Regions from separate parts of the Homo sapiens genome. Here region 1 is linked to region 2. Evidence: promoter capture Hi-C in 16 types of primary human blood cells and fetal thymus (Javierre and others, 2016). All regions are on one chromosome and are shown on one strand. The core of a region is centred on a gene start or on the middle of the fragment in contact, and the rest is flanking DNA. Distances in the headings are between cores, read along the strand shown. Region 1 overlaps SND1 (staphylococcal nuclease and tudor domain containing 1). Region 2 holds the start of PRRT4 (proline rich transmembrane protein 4).

Region 1 (3,715 bases), core at 1,179-3,678, 670 kb after region 2:
TACATCTATGCAACCCCGACATCTGTGCTCCTTCCATTCCATTAAAAACATGTAGGCTGCAAAAAACCACAGGCCCTCAACAAATCTTCCTTTCCAAAAGAGTTCCCAAGAGAAGAAAAGCCACAAGATAGATAAAAGAAATAGAAGATACAAAAGGAAATCTATAGAAATTCAATTAGCATTCTGACCTAGAAGCACAGAGCCATTGAGTTCCATGAGTGAATGGCCTAAACATGAGGAAGAATGCAACTCTATACTACATGCACCTAAACCAAAGCAGGAAAAGGGGTACACAAGGAACAGGAACACCGGGGGCATGCCTCTGTACACATATATTCCCTGTGCTCAGGGCCCAAAGCATTTGCATTTATGCCTTCAGCCAACTGTCCTAGAGCTTCCTCCACCAGAACCCACACTGGCCTTCCACCACAAGAAAACTGATCTTTAACAGAACTTTAGACTTGAGAGAAATGAGTCCTCTCCCTGCAGCTCACCTTTTCCAAGGTAGATCATGCCATACTCTCGCCCCTGGGGAGTCTTGTTTTCTATCGTGAAACAGACTTCCTTCCCAATCAGCTTCTTTCGAAGGAACTCTCGAGCTGGAAATGCCCAGGGCTGAAAGACAAAACAAATATGTCACATGAGAACTGCCTAGTTTCAGATGCCAATCAGCATTCAAGCAACTTCATACCTTCAGTAAATGTCTGAGTACCTACCATGGTCCTGGCCCTGCGCTGGACCTTGAGAATATAAAAATGAAATGCACACAATGCAGATCGCACACTTAGGGGGCTCATAAAAAAAGGAGGGTCCAGCAGTTGGTTTAACTAACACAGACACTAAAAACAGGCCTCAGAGTTTTCCAGACACTGGCAGCAGGACTTTTTCCCTATCACTGTCTGTTCAGAGTTATAGCTTACTTTGTGAATAACATTTGCCAATGCTTTTATAGCACATACCATGTGCCAGCCACTGCTCTAAATGCTGTATATATATCAACCCACTCCTTCAAATGGGAAGTCCAGGCTCCAGGAACCCACCTAGGCAGAGGGAAGTCATAAATAACAACTACCACCTCCATTTCTCCGCCTCTTTCCAGTTTCTAAAACAGTTTCACTGCCTATTAAACTAGCCTGAAACCAGTTAAAGCCATTGTTGGAGGAGGGACATGATTCTAGTGTTCTTATTTCAGAGTGAATCCCCTGCTCAAGTGAGCCTTATTTAAGTCATCTCCACTCCCCTCTTTAAAGATCAGCAATAGTAAGAAGATATCCCCCAAAATGGCTCTTCTTCTACTTCTGCTCTAGTCTGAAGCCTTTACAGGTCCCAACATCCTTGGGAGGACACCAGTAACAGCCCCTGACAAAGGATCACCTTGATAATGGTGATTCTTTCCTCTCACCGTTCCATGCACAGACACGAGGACTGAGCTACACATCCACACAGTAGAAGCAGAGTCTCCATGTCATCTCAAGATAATACACAAAGGGGTGGTTTTGCCCCTCCCCATCCTATCACTCCTGGGATGGTTCAGACAAAGGGAGATTCTCCTCTGAAGCCATTGGCACAGTGGCCACTGGCACTTGAACTTATAGTCTGGACCTGGTTTAATGTCCCAAGTTCCCTTAGTACCAAAATGGGGAGGGATGGGGTAGGTGTTCAAGGAGCGTATGATTAGTAGGAGCTCACATGCTGAAAAAAATGTGAAGTATAAAAGGGAAAAGTGATATACAATATGCATACATTGTCTATTATAATCTCTTCAAACCACAGAACTCATGCTACACACAGTAAAGGCAAAAGAGTAAACTGATGGCCTGAAAGGAAGCCTCTGTTAACCTTTTTGGTCCATGCTAATTATTCCATGAAGTCACCCAACAAGCTTTTCTAGAAGAAAAATATCCATATGACTTCTAAGAAACCAGAAACCAATCAAAAGGTGGCAGGTCCACCAAACTGTTGGGCTGGTAGTCATAAAAACAGTACTGTTACATAACATAAATCATGAGGTTCTAGAGAACTGATCCTCAGTAAGGGTTCTTAAAGATGCAAAAATGAACAGATACTTGCTCACATCATGCCCTCTCTTCAAAGCAGAGGCCAACCCAATTCACTCAATGACAATATCAAGTTCACCTTGATTTTATGTCTCATTTCTACCCCCCACCCCAATCTCCAAAAATAAAATCAGATACCAGTCACCAAAGAGTCTGATGATTGACAAATGATCCCAATTATCAACCACATCACAGAAACAGCACCGAACCAATGAACAAAGCGTCCCAAATTTTTATTACCTTAGGGATCAACTTACTCCAAAAACATACACAGCTACAGATAAGTTTAAGATGTAGTCCTGAGTATTAATATTTAAAATTCAGTAACATAGAGCTTTCCTAAATACTTGGAAAAGCTCTGATAAGACCAGTGCTCCTAAAAGAGGCCAAGACTTTGGTGAAAACACTTTTACAAAAGGTCAGTTCACAGGAAAATAACTAGCCCCTGCAGGGAAATCTCCAATTTCTACCAACCAGGCAGAACTTTTCTAAAAAACTTTTAAGGCTCGCTGAAGAAACATCTTCCCCTTAGGACCTCATGTTTTCCAGCTGGTTAGTTACCGGTCAATAAGAGAAAACCACACTGGAGGTCTTGCAAAGGACATATGCCTAACCGTGTAAGAAAAAATAACCTAGTTTCTGCAATCTTCCTTCCTAAATAAGCCTTCTCAAGTGTGTTCCGTCCAGAGTTGGGCAAATTCAATAACTGGACAAGATATTAGTTAAGAAGAGAGGCAATCAAGAGACTCAAAGAGCTATAGAGGAAAGCAACTGACCACATCACTCCTCTGAGGGCAAGAGAGTGCTCTGGGACAGAACCCTTATGGAAGTGAGGCCAGTGTTACCCATGTGTCCACACAAAGGACAGCCAGGCAGAGGACTATCTGATGGAGAAGTCTATCCTAACAGAAGCTTGCTCAAATAAGGAAATTTGCTCAAAGCATTTATTCAAATAAGGGCCAGAATGGTCTAACAGGAAGAATAACTGTGGTCTATTCAAATGATGCCCCAGAGTCCCATCTAAGAAGCAAGTGGCTTTTAAGAAGTTGAGACTCAAAATTACTCTTTCCTTTAGAATGCCCAACTGCAGGCAATCTGGCGGCCTGCTCAGAACTTCCAGACCCAAGAAAGGTTGTCATATCTACCACAATGAAACTGAGCTTTTAATTCTAATCTTCTCTTTGACCAGATAGACTCTTAAAACTACCAGGACAAGATGAAACCCCAGAATGTAAAACCTTAACTAGTTACTAGGTAAATGACCCAACATTCAATACTTTTTGTCCCTCTTTCTCTTCCAACCACCCCACCGTGCCATCTGGATATGTAACTGATAATCCTGCTCTGCCGTCTTTCCCCAGCTACCCCAGTCCTCAACAGCTCCAATGAATGCAGGATTGTGACATTCATTTCTTTTTTAAAATAATAGCAAAATATGGCCGGGCCTGTAATCCCAGCACTTTGGGAGGCTCACGGCTGTAATCCCAACACTTTGGGAGGCCAAGACTCTTGGCAGGTCACCTGAGGTCAGGTGTTCAGGACCAGCCTGGCCAACATGGTGAAACTCCATCTCTACTGAAAATACAAAAAAAAAAAAAAAAAAAAATTAGCCAGGCATGTTGGCGCACGCCTGCAATCCCAGCTACTTGGGAAGCTGA
Region 2 (3,774 bases), core at 509-3,008:
ATTGCCCATATGGACCCCAGAACCATTCATCATTATTCACTTATCAAATAGGCATGGACCATATCCACAAAGTGCTAAGCTAGCTCTCAATTACTGAGACAGAATCTGCCCTAGGTAACTCTTTAAGCAACACCAGCACCCGCCCCCCGCCGCCCCACACCCTGCAACTGCCACAACCTTCAAGAGAAGAAGAGAAGGGATATAGATGGAAAGGGAATTCAGGGTCATATAAAAGGCTATAACATGGTGACAATAATTTTTCTGTCTCTGTGGCTCGTGGTGACGAATAAGTAAGGAGACTCTTATAAAGCATCCACCATCATTCTTGGCACACAGTTGGATGTTTAGATTTTGAGGGAAAGTTTTAAATGGTGCAGGGAGACAGAAGTGTTTCATGTTCTGATACTTTTAAATTACTATCATTGTTTGAAGAAAACATGAAGGGATTTAGAGACTCAAAACCACATGAATGAGTCAGTAGTACTTCAGTTAGTCACTACTACAACTTAACAGGTTCCATGAAGTATACATAGTGACTGCTCGGTTTTCTTGGTCATCTTCAACCTGTGTCAGCTTTTGCCTGAGCTCTCTTACTTTCTGTGAAGGGGCACGCTCTTTTTTCTTTGTTTTTCCTTTTGAGACAGGGTCTTGCTCTGTTGCCCAGGCTGGAGTGTAGCGGTATGATCACAGCTCACGGCAACCTCCACCTCCCAGGCTCAAGCAATCCTCCAGTCTCAGCCTCCCAAATAGCTGGGACTACAGGTGTCTGCCACCATACCCCATCACGCCCAGATAATTTCTTTCTTTCTTCTTTTTTTCTTGCTTGCTTGCTTGCTTGCTTGCTGTTTGTTTGTTTTTATTTTATCTTTTGCTATGTTGCCCAGGCTGTTCTTGAACCCCGGGGCTCAAGCGATCAGCCTGCCTCAGCCTCCCAAAGTGTTAGAATTACAGGCGTGAACCACTGAACCCAGCCTTTGATTTTACTGTTCTCCTCACACCTCTTACTAGAAACCAGTTGTAATCCACTTCTCACAAGCAGCTTAGCTCACCATTCTTTCTGGCAGACATTTCTGAAACAGTATTTTTGAGAGATCAGTTTTAGCGAAAAGACATGTCACACAGGGATTGGCATTTGGCAGTTCACCGGTGAAGTGTTGGAGGCACTGCTGTGTAGCAGTGCAACTGTTGAAAACCACCAGGTGGTGGAGAGGGCCGGCAGGGAGACGGTTCGAGTTTCTACCAAGCTGTGCAATCTTGGGCAAATTCGGTAATTTTCTGTGTCTTCATTTAATTGTCTGCAAAGTGGCGACATACACAGGGTTGCGGTGAGGACTCATGAGATAAAGGAAGTAGAATTGTCCATTGTACTTCTACTTAGCAAACGGTGGGACTCTTATTGCCCGGGGTGCCATCCTGGGGCAGGCTGCCATGTGTGCGCGTGTGTGCGCGCGCCCTCTGACCTGCGAGTGTGTTTCCTGGCGCGCGTGTGGATGTGTGTGCTGGGCCGCCCTGGGAGTGTGTGATTGCTCTCGCCAGGCTCACAGCGAGGCGCCCGCCGCGGCTGATTGACAGCGCTGGGTGAATGAGCGCGCGTGGAGGCGCCCGGCACCGAGGTGGCCGCGGCTCCGCGCTGCTGTGAGCGCCTGCCTGCCCGCCCGGGTGTGGGGGGACCGCGGGTGGCGGGCTGGGTGGGAGGAGGAGGAGGAGGAGGAGGAGAGAGGGCGCGGGAGCGAGGGCGGGCGGACGGGAGGGCCGTCAGAGCCGGCTGCCGCGGAGCCCCGGCGCGGGCGGCTTCGCCGGGGAGCGAGGCTCGGAGCCAGGAGGCGGCGCCGCTGGGAGGGAGCGCGGAGTGCGGAGTGCGGAGCGCGGGGCCTGGCCGCCCGCCTGGTGAGAGCGCTGCGGGCCGGGGCTGGGCCGGGGGCGGCTCAGGGGCAGCGGGGCGGCGAGGCTGCGGTCTCTGGACTAGGCGAGGGGCCGCCGGGGGCTGGAGGTCCGGATCTTCAGTCGGGGCGCTGGGCACAACAGAGAGAAGCGGTGAGATACCACGAAGCGTTGCCCAGCTGGGCGCCAGGGCCGCCACGACCGCCCCTTTTCGGAGGCTCGGCGAGGAGACCTGCCTGCGGGAGAGACCCCGGGGAGCAGGTCGGCCGGTCCGGGCTGGGGGTGTGTGTGCGTGTGCGCGCGCGTGTGTGCATGTGTGCCTGCGAGGGGTGGTGGGCGTGTACGAGTGTGGGGGGATGGCGGTGTGTGGCATGTCTGTGTGTGTGAATGTGTGTAGGGGGTGTGCATCTCTGTACAGTACATGCCGTGTGTGTGTGTGTGTGTGTGTGTGTGTGTGTGTGTGAGAGAGAGAGAGAGAGAGAGAGAGAGACAGGGGAGGCCGGGGGCTCACAGAGCTTGGGTTTGAACCCATGCAGGGAGGAGAGTGGCTCGGCAGGACGGAGTGTGTGTGTGTGTGTGCGCGCGCGCGTGCAGGGGCAGGGGGGTATGTGACGGGTGAGTGTGTCACGGGCGCTAGATGTGGCTATGTGTGTGATGTAAGGGTGCCGGGTGCATGTGTGTCCCTGGCTCACCCTCCCTTCCCCCACCAGATGTGTGCGCACAGAGGAGAGAGTTCTGGGGAGGGGGTAGGAGTCCGCCGCAGCTGCCTGCAGTTCGCCCAGCTTGCCTGCCTGGCGTTCTCCTCCAGGAAGCCGGAGATCGCCAAGCTGCCCCTCCCCCGAATACTTCAAGGGTCCTAGGGAAGGGAACAGGCCCAGCCCCAGGAAACGGGAGGGGCGGGAGGGAGGGTGCTTCTGCCAGATTGGGAACCTTGCTTCTCTGGCCAGAGCCTGGGCGGCCTTCTGACTGGGCCAGATCACTCAGCTCTGGCTTTACCCCTCCCGAGGCCCTGTGCCCCCTGGGGTCTGAGAGTGAGGGCGCCAGCACTTCTGGCTGGGGCGGGAGGTGGGGGTTGGAATAGGTCAAGACATCGGAAGGGCTTGCTTGTTCACAGTTATATGCCCAGAAGGGTGCTTGGCAAACGGTAAGCCTGCGTAAAGACTTGAGGCTCAGCAGAGGGAAGGAAGAGAGGAATCCATGTCTGGAAGCCCAAGTCCATCCCTTTTGCTACTAGTTAAGGATGAGGGCCCCTGGTTGCAGTCAGACCCCAGCTTCTGCATGAGCAGAGGGGGAAGGAGGAACCCCCAGGCAGGGATTTGTGCTGGGGCCTGAAGGTACAGGAAGGGCCCGGCAAGAAGAGCCAGAGCCATGGACAGGACACTTTGCATCCTGCCCACACTACCTGCTTCTCTGAGATCAGAAGCCTCTCTCTGGGACATCCGATCCTGGGAAAGGGAAGAGGGGGGCCACAGCCAGGGCTCACAGGGCCTCTCCTCTCTCCAGGACCTTCCTCCTCAAAAGCTGCTGAACAACTGAGTCCCTGCCCACCAAGGCCACCCGAAGCCAGGTGGGGCCATGGCCAGGCATGGCTGTCTAGGGCTGGGACTGTTCTGCTGCGTCCTGTTTGCTGCTACTGTGGGCCCCCAGCCCACCCCCTCCATCCCAGGTGCCCCTGCCACCACTTTGACCCCCGTACCTCAAAGTGAGGCCTCTATGCTGTCTCTCAACCTGGGACTTAACTTCAAATTCCATCTTCGGGGACCTGCTGCTGTCTGGGGGAGCCCAGTCACAGAGACCCAGCCACTCTCTCTTGGGCCAGGCCAGGAGCCAGGGGAAGAGGTGGCCAGTGGGCTGAGGACTGACCCCCTTTGGGAATTGCTGGTGGGCTCCTCA

Evidence for each region. The method cuts DNA at HindIII sites, captures the fragments that hold promoters and counts their contacts. A CHiCAGO score of 5 or more calls a contact.
Region 1: a contact is called between a fragment that was not itself captured here and the fragment with the promoter of PRRT4 in region 2, in 1 of 17 cell types (neutrophils). The highest score is 6.8, in neutrophils.

What each region holds. Positions count from the first base shown.
Region 1 is chr7:127,691,728-127,695,442 of GRCh38, reverse strand. It overlaps SND1 (staphylococcal nuclease and tudor domain containing 1), which reads right to left. Exons shown (of 24, transcript NM_014390.4): 3 at 495-615. Among named protein-coding and RNA genes, the nearest start is that of SND1, 41 kb to the right of the region's middle. The HindIII fragment of the contact is 1,087 bases long and covers 1,885-2,971 here.
Region 2 is chr7:128,359,674-128,363,447 of GRCh38, reverse strand. PRRT4 (proline rich transmembrane protein 4) reads left to right here and starts at 1,758. Exons shown (of 6, transcript NM_001174164.2): 1 at 1,758-1,887; 2 at 2,026-2,142; 3 at 3,385-3,774. The coding sequence starts at 3,457. RefSeq lists enhancers at 1,823-2,691, 2,692-3,560, 3,561-3,774. The HindIII fragment of the contact is 16,343 bases long and covers 1-3,774 here.